Regions from separate parts of the Homo sapiens genome. Here regions 1, 2 and 4 are each linked to region 3. The links are contacts of gene promoters, found by promoter capture Hi-C in blood cells and fetal thymus (Javierre and others, 2016). All regions are on one chromosome and are shown on one strand. The core of a region is centred on a gene start or on the middle of the fragment in contact, and the rest is flanking DNA. Distances in the headings are between cores, read along the strand shown. Region 1 holds the start of ZNF674 (zinc finger protein 674). Region 2 overlaps RGN (regucalcin). Region 3 holds the start of RP2 (RP2 activator of ARL3 GTPase). Region 4 has its middle 6.6 kb from the start of CHST7.

The links. The method cuts DNA at HindIII sites, captures the fragments that hold promoters and counts their contacts. A CHiCAGO score of 5 or more calls a contact.
Region 1: the fragment with the promoter of ZNF674 here is called in contact with the fragment with the promoter of RP2 in region 3 in 1 of 17 cell types (neutrophils); the score reaches 5.6 in neutrophils.
Region 2: a fragment that was not itself captured here is called in contact with the fragment with the promoter of RP2 in region 3 in 2 of 17 cell types (erythroblasts and fetal thymus); the score reaches 6.2 in erythroblasts.
Region 4: a fragment that was not itself captured here is called in contact with the fragment with the promoter of RP2 in region 3 in 1 of 17 cell types (monocytes); the score reaches 5.7 in monocytes.

The regions. Positions count from the first base shown.
Region 1 is chrX:46,543,982-46,547,266 of GRCh38, forward strand. ZNF674 (zinc finger protein 674) reads right to left here and starts at 1,440. Exons shown (of 6, transcript NM_001190417.2): 1 at 1,390-1,440; 2 at 520-630. It overlaps ZNF674-AS1 (ZNF674 antisense RNA 1), which reads left to right and starts at 1,509. Exons shown (of 2, transcript NR_015378.3): 1 at 1,509-1,646; 2 at 2,485-3,285. RefSeq lists enhancers at 814-2,013, 1,629-1,778. The HindIII fragment of the contact is 22,375 bases long and covers 1-3,285 here.
Region 2 is chrX:47,092,682-47,095,701 of GRCh38, forward strand. It overlaps RGN (regucalcin), which reads left to right. Exons shown (of 8, transcript NM_152869.4): 8 at 216-632. The coding sequence ends at 266. Among named protein-coding and RNA genes, the nearest start is that of RGN, 16 kb to the left of the region's middle. The HindIII fragment of the contact is 2,068 bases long and covers 595-2,662 here.
Region 3 is chrX:46,835,492-46,838,950 of GRCh38, forward strand. It overlaps RP2 (RP2 activator of ARL3 GTPase), which reads left to right and starts at 1,552. Exons shown (of 5, transcript NM_006915.3): 1 at 1,552-1,711. The coding sequence starts at 1,610. RefSeq lists a silencer at 1,154-1,233 and an enhancer at 1,544-1,683. The HindIII fragment of the contact is 11,862 bases long and covers 1-2,782 here.
Region 4 is chrX:46,565,623-46,568,739 of GRCh38, forward strand. No RefSeq gene overlaps it. Among named protein-coding and RNA genes, the nearest start is that of CHST7, 6.6 kb to the right of the region's middle. The HindIII fragment of the contact is 1,074 bases long and covers 1,307-2,380 here.

The sequences.
Region 1 (3,285 bases), core at 190-2,689, 290 kb before region 3:
ACTCAAATTCAGAAATAGCCAATGGCAAGAGAAGGAAGCATGGGGGTGCACAAATAGGTGTGCTAGGAGAGGCCAATCCTCTGTGGCTGGCTGTGATCCTTCCCAGCCTCATCCCGCCTTTGCAGGTACTACAGCAGGGCACCTGCCCCCATGGGGGACATCCATGCCTCCATCCACCTGTGACTTTCACCTGTCCCTCCTCCAGCAGGAATCAAACTGCACTGTCACATGGTCCTCCATGGCACCTGGAAGTAGAGCCAGCTTTGCTCTGTCTCAGCTGAAGTGAGGGACAAAGGCCACTACGGGTCCAGCTCTTCTAGGACCTGCTGTCCCGTGAGCCTCCTTTGCTCTGAGGATCTGGGTCTGGGCTCTTGCTGAGGCTTCTCCTCCAACTCGCCTCAGCTCAGCGTACCTCTCTTGTGTCCAAGGCGGCAGGACCAAGGGATTCAGAGACAAACACACCCCAGTTGGGGCCATCACTATAGCACTAGATCTCTGCCTGTGACCCAGGGAACTCACCTCTTCCTGGGGCCTCAGCCTAAGTCTTCTGCGACTAAGTGGGGAAGCCGAGGCACAGATAAACTGGAGTCTGAAATCGGTGAGCAGTGGTCTCAGGTCTGCACTCTGACCCTGGAAACACAATGACCACAGGAGATTCAATTAGCAACACCTATGCTCCCTTCCATGCAGTGAAGTTGAGTGAAACCCAAAGGTTTTTACCCAACAGAAGAGGGACAACCCCTCATTCTAGTTTTAAGAGTTAACATTCATGCACAGCTCAATTATCCTCAGTGAGCGAAACCCTGCCTTCCTGAGTCCGGGCTTTGGAATCAACTGACTGGCTGCTGTGCCACTTTTATTCACTGAAGAAATGATTGCCTTCCATGAGCCGGTTCTCCGTGTTGCAAATCCATCAGTGAACAAAATCTCAAATTCCCAGCTCCAGATTTCTAGTCTGGAGGAAGAGACACACTGGAAACAATAAACATGATAAACAAAGTACAGGAAAAGAAAAAGAAAAAGGATTCCTCGGGTTTGCTACCTACGGGACTTTGGACAGGTTGCCAAGCCACACTGTACCGTTTTCTCTCTATAACATGAAAATAATCATCGTAACACCTCACAGGGCTCCTGCTAATGTGAAACATTTGCAAGAGTGTCTGGCAGTTACCACCGGGTGAGGATACAAGCGCTGAGTGACTCAATCAATTAGTCACTCGCTGGCCCCGAACCTCGCCCCCAACACTCACGCCCACCGCCTGTGTCACTCAATCCCCACAAGGACGCTCACCCGTGGCCCCATGACCCCACGGCCCCGTAAACTCCCGTCATTCCTCCCGTCCCCCCTTCCCCCGATCAAAACCATCACCACCTCACCCTCCCGCTTACTTCACTGCCGACAGCCTGAAACCTCAGGGGCGGATGACAACAGCCAGTGTGAACGAAGCGCCACCCTCCGGGTCAGCCGAGCATTTCCGCTTCCCACAGCCCCCTGGGAACGTGAAGTCAAAGCAATGCGCACGCGCAGTGGCTTTGAAGGCGGGGCAACAAAGCCTGTGGCCGATGTGGCGCTCCTCGGCCCGCGCTTCAGTGGTTATGACAGTGTTCGCTCTAAGGGGAGAAGGAATGTGTGACCATTTCCAACGGTAAGTCGTACAAAAGGTCCGGGGAGGCGTACCTGGGCGGCGAGAGGCGAGAGAACTCCGCGCGGGCTTTCCAGTGCCCAGGCCCCTGCCGGCTCCGAAGCCGAAATCCCTTCTTCCACTTCGTTCTCTTGCAGTGGACGTGGGGTGTTCCCACCCCTCTGTCCCCAAGGCCACTGTTTCTGTCTTCCGCTCCTAGGAATAGGAAAAAGAGTCGCGCCTCTGGCATCTGTGGCAGCTCCAGAGCGCGGCCCTCTAGGGTCCAGGCAGGCCACATGGAGCGGGGCCCTAGGCCTGGCTCAGAGCGTCCTAAGAGCAACAGGTCTGGCTCAGTCGGGGAAGTGGCCTGGAAGAGGGGCTTTGGAGCCGGGCTTCAGAGCCAGCAACCTCCCGAAGTGAGGGAAGAAAGCCTCATTCTGATTGTTCTCTACCCAGTGGTGGGGCTCCGGTTCCTAGGATCTTAGACACCCTGGGAGAATCTGGATTTTACTTTTTAGCGGAGAGGTGTTTTCTCTGAGAATGCCAGCCAGTGGCAACATGGCCCGCTAAAAAGGCCTGTAGTAAACTTGAGGAAAGTTTTCTGTTTCCTGTCTGGGTCTGGGAGAAAGAGAACAAGTGTTGTTCTCCATGCTTACTATGCCTGCCTGGTCACCAAGCGGGCCTCTTTGGGTCAAGTATGACAGAGTCTCCCTCAGGTACACAGCAAACCCTTCTGTGCTAGAGCCAGCTGGTGCCAGACACTGTTCATAGATGTGTCCAAGACATTTGTGTAATCTATCAGACACGTATTTAATTTCCATTTGAACATGAGTGTTTTTCCTCTTTCTCTTTCTCCTCTCAGGTTAACTTGCATTCCCCAGATAGTTTGGATGAGTTACAACCTAAATCTGCAAACTCAATACAGCCAGACCCTGGGAAGTGACTCTCTCCAAGCCTCCTGTACAAGTCCCAGGAAAAGAGCCTGTTTTCCCTTGGACATGTGAGCAGTGAATTACTGCTCATTCAGAATTTCATGTGTATGTGTTACTGATGGCCAGGTTTAGAGATACCAACCTATTTATTTCTAGAGGAGAGGTGATTTGATAACCTTTTCAGATATCACTATCAGTAGGCAGAAAAGGGTTAATAGTATGATAGGGTTAATATGTCCTGAGGAGAGTAAAGAAATTGCAAACTGCAGAAGCACCTGATCTGTGGCCCTGGCCAGCATCTCTCCATATCCTGATTCTGTAAGATCAAGTGTTTATGCAGAAAGAGAAGGGACTGATGATTTGAATGTGACCAGATGCAGGGCATGCCCTTATTGCCATGCCAGCATTTGCTATTCATGATGTTAGTATTCAAAAATCAAGAAACACCCTTCCTGGGCCATTGGTGTCTACTAATCCATTGGAAGAAAAGACTGGAATCCACCACTTACTAGCTTCTTGGGCCTCAGTCCCCTCTTTTCTGCCATAGCTAAGGACCACCTAACCTAGATGGCTGTTGTTATTGTTCAAAGGGACATCTTTAGAGCCTCAAGCCCAGGAATAGCCCGTGGCAGGCACCTGGTAAATGTTAGTTTTCATTGTCCTATCCCAACACTATGAAACATGCAGCACTCTCTGCAACTGCCCCTGTGGATTTCCATAGGCAGGAGAGT
Region 2 (3,020 bases), core at 379-2,878, 260 kb after region 3:
TCTAAGTTAGTCGTAAATGATTGCTAGTTGAATTATTAACTATATGAATAATTGGGTTGGACCATAAATATCCAGTCAGGTAATTCCTTTTTATGATAGGAGATAAAACAAAGATAATAGGTGGCTAAGTATATTACTACAAATCATAAAAATGCTTTTGAAGAATACTTGTGAATTACCTTTCACCTGAGATTCCCTCTTTTCTTTTTCAACAGATAACTGGTCTGGGGGTCAAAGGAATTGCTCCCTACTCCTATGCGGGATGAGGACAGGTCTTCTTTCCTGCCAGAGGGAGCTCTGAAGACAACTAGAGAATTCTGGGCCTGAAATTTCAATCTAGTTAGAAAGAAAAATGAGGCAATGATTTTATTAACAGCGTTAAGTTTTAATTTACAACTTTTAAAAGGCAGAGCATTTTTAACAAGGGGTGACAGGTGGTTTTGATAACACACTTATAAGGCTTTCTGTAAAAGGTACTATAGAAGGGCGAAGAATCGTTCAACTGTCAATCAGCCTCTTGATTCTTTGTAAATTGCCAGGGTGGGTGGGTACATATCTCTTCTTGATTCTGCATTTCATACTTAACTATATTAAAGCTTCAAGGAACAATAAATAGTAACCTGGTAATGACCTATTATGTTCCTTTTTATTTTCATCACAATCTTATAAAATATACCACAATGCTAACTAACCTACATAGATATTTCATCTCCTATATGTTATTTTACAAACTAAAATACGGCTGGAGGGTTAGACTCAAACATGCTGTCAAAATCCATGGTTCCAGCTGCCACCTACTGGATGTAAAAGTAATATGTCTCTTTGGAAAGAATACTTATTTTAAAAATAGCTTTATTGAGTTATAATTGGCCTGTACATATTTAAAGTGTATAATTTGACAAATTTGTCACATATATACATTCATGAAACCAACACCACAAACAAGATAATGAATCTATCCACTACCCCAAAACTTTTCTTGTCCTGTCATAATCCTTTTCTTCAGCCCCTCTGCCTGCCTGTCCCCTGCTCCCAGGAAACCACTGATCTGCTTTCTGTCACTATAAATTAGTCTTAAAATTAGGTAGTGTGATTTCTGTAACTTTGCTCTTTTTCAAAATTGTTTTGGCTATTTTAATTCCTTTGACCTTCCATATAAATTTTCAAATCAGCTTGACGATATCTACAAAAGAAATCAAGCTACAATTTTTTAATTGGAATTGCTTTTTTTTTTTTAGACAGGATCTACTCTGTCACCCAGGTCGGAGTGCAGGGGCACGATCATGGTTCATTGCTGCCTCTACCTCCCAGGCTGAAGCAACCCTCCCACGTCAGTCTCCCGAGTAGCTGGGCTGAGACTGCAGGTGCGTGCCACTATGGTCATTTTTTCGTTTGTTTGGTTGGTTGGTTTTTTGGATTTTTTGCTTTTCAGAGACGAAGTCTTGTTATGCTGCCCAGGCTGGCCTCAAACTCCTGGTGATCCTCCCGCCTTGACTTCCCAAAGCTCTGGGATTACAGGAATGAGCCACCGCGCCAGGCCTGAAATTGCTTTAAATCTGTAAAACGATTTGGAGATAATTGACTTCTTTACTATTCTGAGTCTTATCCATGAACAGGGCATGTCTCTCCCGTTATTTAGGCCTTCTTCAATTTTTGTCATCAGTGTTTTGTAGGTTTCAGCATACAGATCTTGTACATGTTTTGTTAGATTTATATCCAAGTATTTCACTTTTGGGAGCTATTGTAAATGTTATTATTATTATTATTTGAGACAGGGTCTTGCTCTATGGGCCAGGCTAGAGTGAAGTGGCACGATCATAGCTCACTGCAACCTTGCACTCCTGTATTCAAGCGATCCACACACCTCAGCCTCCCAAAGTGCTGGGATTACAGGCGTGAGCCACCACACCCAACCTTATTATTATTTTTTGGATTTGTTTCCAGTTGATCATTGCTTGTTTATAGAAGTGTGATTGGCGTTTATAGGTTGACTTTGTATCTGATGAGTTTGCTAACCTCACTAATTGGTTCTAAGAGTATTTCTGTAGCTTCTCTGAGATTCTTTGGGTGTATAATCATGTCTTCTGTGAATAGAGACAATTTTCTTTCTTTCTTTCCAGTTTGTATGTTTTTATTTTTCTTGCATTATTACACTGGCTAAAATTGCCACTATTATGTTGAATGGAAATAGTAAGAGTAGACAGCCTTGTCTTGTTCCCAATCTCAAGAGAAAAGCATGCAGTCTTTTATTATTAAATATGATATTAGTTATATGTATTTTTGTGGATGGCCTTTCTCAAATTGAGGAAGTTCCCTTCTCATTTACTTTTCTGCATGTATTAATGTGATTATGTGGTTTTCCTTCTTTAGACTGTTAATATGATCAATTCTTGCATTCCTGAGATAAACCTCCCTTGGTCATGACATATTACTACTTTTATGTGTTGCTGAATTCCATTTTCTAATATTTTGTTGAGGATTTTTGCAGCTACTATCTTTTGTCTGTGGTTGACATCAGGGTAATTCTGGCCTTATAAAATGAATTGGAAAGTATTCCTTCTTCTACTATCTGGAAAAGAAAATGTATAATTATTATTCTTCTTTAAATATTTGGCAAAATTCATCAGCGAAAACATTTGGACCCGGAGATTTCTTTTTCAGAAGCTTTTTAACATTCCTTAATAATGACAAGGCCACTTGGTTGCCTTACTTAATTTTGGTGAGGTCTGTTAGTTTGCGGCTTCCAAGGAATTGATCCTTTTCATCTAAGTTGTCAAATTTATGTATGTAGAGTTATTAATAGTATTTCCTTATTATCCTTTTAATAATGCCTGAGAGGTTTGTAGTGATATCCCCTTTTTTACCTGCTATTGGTTATTTGTGTCTTTTTTCTTTGTCAGTCTTGCTAGAGGTTTATCAGTTGCATTGATCTTTCAAAGACCTAGCTTTTGATTTCATTTTTTGGTTGTCAATTTCATTGATTTATCCTTTTATCTTTGTTATTCCTTCCTTCTGCTTTA
Region 3 (3,459 bases), core at 302-2,801:
CGATCTCCTGACCTCATGATCCTACCGCCTCGGCCTCCCAAAGTGCTGGGATGACAGCCGTGAGCCACCGCGCCCGGCCCTGCATGCCCTTTATGACATACCTTTTAGGCCAGGCGCGGTGGCTCATGCCTGTCATCCCAGCACTTTGGGAGGCCGAGGCGGGCAGATCACCTGAGGTCAGGAGATCGAGACCAGCCTGCCCAACATGGTGAAACCCCGTCTCTACTAAAAATACAAAAATTAGCCGGGCGTAGTGGCAGGCGCCTGCAGTCCCAGCTACTCTGGAGGCTGAGGCAGGATAATCACTTGAACCCGGGAGGCGGAGGTTGCAGTGAGCCGAGATGGCACTGCTGCACTCCAGCCTGGGCGACAAGAGCAAAAACTCCATCAAAAAAAAAAAAAAAAAAAAAAGATATACCTTTTTGATCTCAAGAAAGTCACAGTTCAAATAGGGAAACAATACACAATTAACTATTTTACTAAGTACTTGTGCAATTTTAGAGCCATATGTGAAAGTCTTAAGAAAACACAGAAGCAGCCTGGGGTGCGGTGGGTCCTGCCTGTAATCCCAGCACCTTGAGAGGCTGAGGCAGGATGATCGCTTGGGCCCAGGAGTTCAAGACCAGCCTGGGCGACATAGCAAGACCCCATTTCTACAAAAGTAAAAAAAAAAAAAAATAGGTGGGCATGGTGGTGCTTGCTTGTAGTTCCAGCTACTCAGGAAGGAGGCTGAGGCAGGAGGATCGCTTGAGCCCAGGAAGTCAAGGTTGCAAAGTTGCAAGGTTGCAGTGAGTTATGATTGTGCCACTGCAGCCTGAGTGACATAGCGAGACCCTGTGAAAGAAAAAGAAAGAAAGAAAGAAAGAAAGAAAGAAAGAAAGAAAGAAAGAAAGAAAGAAAGAAAGAAAGAGCACAGAAGAGGATTGGGAGGTTATGGGGTACAATTCTTGAGGGGGTGACCCTGGCCAGGCGATGAGAGGGCGGTAGGAAGGGTGATGAGGGGAGAAGAGGATTTAGAAATACAAATTTCAGGGTCTTCTTGTGTCAGCGGGAATTTCTGTCCCTCACAACTTTCATCATAAGATAAATCTAATGTTCAACTAGAGATCTCTCCCGCGCCTTGAACTTGCAAATTTATGAATCAGGGGCAAAAAAAACCCGGATACCGAGCCTGGCCTCCCACCAGCTAGAGAACCCACCAAGTTCCAGGAGGGGCGGGGCCGAGGGCGGTCCGTGCCACAGCTGTGGGCGGGGTTGTCCGTGCTTGCGCCAGAGCCGGCCCGCCCCGCCGCCAGGGGCTGTCGCAGGAGCCAGGCGTGGATTGGTATGTGGGTATGTCGGCCTCTCTTCATAGGCCGCGCAGGATTGCTCGAGAGGCTTTGATTGGCTCAACAGGCGCTGAGCGTTCATTGGCTGCGCTGGGTCGTCAGGGCGACGAAAAAGGGGAAGGGGTGCTGGGCCTGGCGGGCAAACTAAGGCTGCGGACCGTTGGGCGGTTCCGCGGGGCGTTGTCCGGAGAGCTGCGAGGCCGGGGTTCCCAGGGTTCACGCCACACTCTAGGAAGTGCCTGAGCTAGTGAGCTGGCCAACGAGCTCCGCGGGCTGGGACCATGGGCTGCTTCTTCTCCAAGAGACGGAAGGCTGACAAGGAGTCGCGGCCCGAGAACGAGGAGGAGCGGCCAAAGCAGTACAGCTGGGATCAGCGCGAGAAGGTAATGAAAGTCGTGTAGCCGCCGTCTCAGCCTCCCTGAGCCGCTCCGCCAGGTCCCTTACGGCCCGGGACCGCTGAGGGGGCCGACCCAACTGCTGCCGCACTCTCTTGAACGCGGATAGCTGAAGTCGGGGTGCACGACTTTTTTGGGGAGCGGGGACGTGAAGTACAGCGCTAGAGAGGCCGCCCAGAGGGCTGTGGAGCTCCGGAAGGAGCCTTAGGAGTTTGTTGTCGTGGTAGACAGACTCCCCCGGGAGCTTTCTCTGACTCCGAACCCTGCCTTGCTCTGACTTCCTGTTGGAGATGATCGATTCGAGAGAGGGAAAGAGCCGAGAACGCCCTGAATCTCAAATCACCTCGTTTCACCCACCGGCAGCGTCAAGCGGGGTTTTGTCCAGTCGTCGAGTTACGTATATGGGACCGATTCTCATCTCTTCCGGGGCTTAATGTTCTGTGGCTGTTTTCTCTTTTGTCTGCCCTCCCCGGCAAATCTCTTTGGTGCCTCATGATATATTTCACTGCTGAATTTTCTCAATTACCAAGTGGACTGTTTAATGTACAGCTTTACTCCCCCTCCTCTTCCAGTTATCCGAAAGAAATAATGAATATCGCATCAGTCTTGGAATGTGTATTAAGACTGTAAGGTGAAAATAAGCGGCATAAACCAGGCAGTATTTTACTGCTGGTTTAAATGAATGAAAACGCCCTTATTTTTATTTTTGTATATAGCCAGAAACGAAAAACCTTTGAAAACCTCCATTAGTCTTACACAAAACACACTCGGTCATACATTTCATAATAGTTCCTCTTTCTACATAGTTCTCCATTTGTGCTTACTAAACTACTTTGATGGACTTATCAATTATTTCTCCCAAACAAAATGAGAGATTTTTCAAATGGGTATTATGAACAGTTAACTCTTTGCTTAAGGCAACATATCTTTACCCAAGATTACTTTATAATAAATGTATTAACGTTTTGGAATCACAGACCTTTCTGCATGATTTCCAATCCCCAGCAGAATGTATTCAGGTAAGCTCTGGTCTCTAAGAGTCAGAGTTAGGAAATTGAAAGCTTTTTGCAGCTTTTCTCAGCCCCGTCTTTCTGCCCCTACTTCTCATACACACCCTTCTTGGGTCACATGGTACCTTTATTCTCTGTTAGTCATACTCGATAGTAGCATTTTATAATGTAGGGGAAGAAAGTACTATGCTTTCTATTTCACAAGAAGATTGCACCTGCCATTTAAAGTTATCTGATGGGCGGTTTTTAAAAGATATTGTTTTCCTCAGCCTTTGGCTTTCTAACAATGTTCTTTTAGCTTGAATTGTCTGCCTTAGAGAAAGTTGCATATTTCATTTTTATTTTAGTTTTTTCTTTTGAACTCAGGCTAAATCTAAACTAAATAAAATGCCTTTTTTATTTATAGTAGTCTTGGCTGCCTATGACTCATCGTTTCACAATAAATTGTTTTACAGTTAATGTTTATTAACATAATATTCAGGTTAGTTAGGACTTCTCATGTTAATCCTTCTTTTAGATAAGTGTGTGTGTCCTGTGATTTTTTTTCTTCTTTTGCCCATTGGCTAAGTAAATGCATTGAGAAATATAACATTGGACACCAACATCTAAGCTTTTTCCCCACAAATGAGTGTGTAATAAACTTTCAATTGTAGAAACTGTTTTGAGCTTACAGAGAACCTTTTTTTTTGAGAACACTACTAAGTTCTGTAGTTGTAGAGTTGTAAG
Region 4 (3,117 bases), core at 594-3,093, 270 kb before region 3:
GAGAGAGAGAGAGAAGGAGAGAGAGAGAGAGAGAGAGAGGATAGCAGAAAAAACGAATCAAAAGAAATCTTTTTTTCTTTTTCTCAGTCTAAAATGCTAGTCTTATTTTTTTCTCAGCCAAGCAGGCAGATTCTGCCTTCCCAATCTCTATTCATCTTTTTCTTTCCAACTGCCATCTATTTCAAATTCTCTGCTCTTTCATTCTGTCCCAATAGGTCTTCCTCTCTCAATCCCAATCTATGGGATCCCAGCAAGACTATTTTTGGAAAGTCATTTCTGCTAACGTTACTTACTCCCTCAATACAAATCATCAGTAGTTTGCTATCAAAGCTCAAATGTAAAGTGCTTCTTCCCAGCAGTCAATCAGACAACAAATGCTTGTTGAGCACCTACTATGTGCTTGACACCATGATAAGGTCTGGCATTCAAGACCTCTAACAACATAATTTTCAAACCTTAATGATTTGCATCATTATCCAAAGACCAATTGGAAGCCAAGACAGATTCTGAGCAGAGAAATGGCATTGACCGAAATCTATCACTGATTAAAAATTAGGCCGGGTGCAGTGGCTCATGCCTTTAATCTCAGCACTTTGGAAGGTCGAAACAGGCAGACCGCTTGAGCCCAGGAGTTCAAGACCAGCCTGGGCCACATGGTGAAATCTTGTCTCTACAAAAAAAGTAGCCAGGCGTGGTGGTGTGCGCCTGTAATCCCAGCTACTCGGGAGGCTGAGGAGAGAGGATCACTTGAGCCTGAGAGGCAGAGGTTTCAGTGAGCTGAGATCACACCACTGCGCTCCATGCTTGGCGACAGAGTGAGTCACAGTCTCAAAAAAAAAAAAAAAAATTAAAAGAGGGCAAAATAGAAACAGAGACTGGCTAGGCAGTTTCTACAGTGCTCTAGGGGACAGTTGGTCCTCTGAGCTAGGGTAGTAGCAATGGCAATGAAGATAAGTGAATGATTTGAAAGGACATTTAGGAGGTAAAACCCACCTGACTTGATGATAGATTGGATTGAAGAAGAGGGACTGAGGAAGAGGGAGATACCCAGAATGGCTCCTAAGTTTCTGACTGCATAATAGAATAGATAGTTTTATCATTCACATATTAAAATTGATATGCCATTGAGGCAACCAAGAGGGAATGTCAAGTGGGCAACTGGATTTCTAGGTGTGGAGCCCCAAGGAGAGGCTGGGGCTGGAAATGTCAATTTGGAGTCATTGAAGAGATCATAAAGTGAAAAGGAAGAGGGCCTGGGGAATCAGCTTCCCACAGCAGCAACAATGTACCGACTCATAAGACTTAAAGCTTACTCTATGGGATACACTGTTCTGGGATTATACACACACACACACACACACACACACACACACACACACCACACCCAGTTGTGCATTGTTTAATGATGGGGATGCATTCCAAGGAATGCGTTGTTAGGCGATTTCATCATTGTGCAAACATCATAAAGTGTACTTACATAAACCTAGATGGGATAGCCTATTACACACCTAGGCTATATGTACAGCATGTTACTGTACTGAATACTGTAGACAGTTGTAACATGAGATCATATTTGCGCATCTAAACATATCATCTAATCATAGAAAAGGTACAATAAAAATAAGGTATTAGAATCTTATGGGACCTCCCTTGTATATGCAGCTCATCATTGACAAAACATCAGGTGGCACATGACTGCATATATATATATATATATATATATATATATATATATATATATATAATTTAATTCTTACAACAACCCTGCAGGATAGGGGAGGATAGGTACTATTAGAACTAATGTTTGATAAATGAGGCACAGAGAGGTTCACTTACTTGCCCAAGGCCATAGAGCTGAAGTGGTGGAGCTGGCCTATGAACTTGGGTGGCCTCACTCCAAAGGATAAAGGATATCAACTTGGGTGGCCTGACTCCAAAGGTCAATCTCTCAAATGCTATGCTCTGAAGGTGTAGCTATGAACTAGGAGAACAGTTCACATGTGATGTCATAGAAGTTGGCAGAAGAGATGATTTGAAGGTGGGAACTGTCAACAGTGTTAAATGTTATTGATACATATGTACACTTACAATGTGTCAGTTAAAAATGTTATTGAAAGGTCAAGTAAGGTGAGCCATGAAAGTGTCCTGGATTCAGTAACATGGCACCAGGCATGGTGGCTCACATTTGTTATCCCAGCACTTTGAGAGGCCAACATAGGAGGACTGCTTGAGCCCAGGAATTGGAGACCAGTCTGGAATACATAGGAAGACTCCGTATCTACACAAATTAAAAATAAAAAAGTTAGCTGGGAGTGGTGGTGTGAATCTGTGATCCTAGCTAAACTCAAAAAAAAAAAAAAAACCATGGAAGCCATTGATAAGCTTAGAAAGAACTGATGATGTGGCAATATGGGGGCAGAACTCAGATTGGAGTGTGCTGAGGAATTGTTCCTGGACCAAGCCGAGGGTCGGACTGCTTATTCTCTCAGCCCAATTACAAGATGCAGGTGAACTGGGAAAGAAGAGAGTTTTTATTTCTGTAACCAGGTGCAGGGAGAAGGCCTGGAAATTATCACCAGACCAACTCAAAATTACAAAGTTTTCCAGAGCTTACATACCTTCTAAGCTACATGTCTACGTGTAAGTGTGCATTCATCTAAAGACATAAGTGATTAACTTCTTCTAATCTATAACTAAGGTCTGAGTCCTGAAGACCTTCCTCTGGAGCCTCAGTAAATTTACTTAATCTAAATGGATCCAGGTGCTGGGGTGATTGCCCTTATCTTATCTCCTGCTAAATCATGGAGGTTTGGGGAGTTCCTTCAGACCACTAATAACATGTGCTTAATCTTTTTAAATTTTATTTTATTTTTTTGAGACACAGTCTCACTCATTGCCCAGGCTGGAGTGCAGTGGCTCAATCTCGGCTCACTGCAACCTCCGCCTTCCAGGTTCAAGTGATTCTCCTGCCTCAGCCTCCCAAGTAGCTGGGATTACAGGTGCATGCCACGCCCGGCTAATTTTTGTATTTTTAGTAGAGACGAGTTTTCACCATGTTGGCCAAGCTGGTCTCGAACTCCTGACCTCAAGTGATCTGCCTGCCTCGGCCTCCCAAAG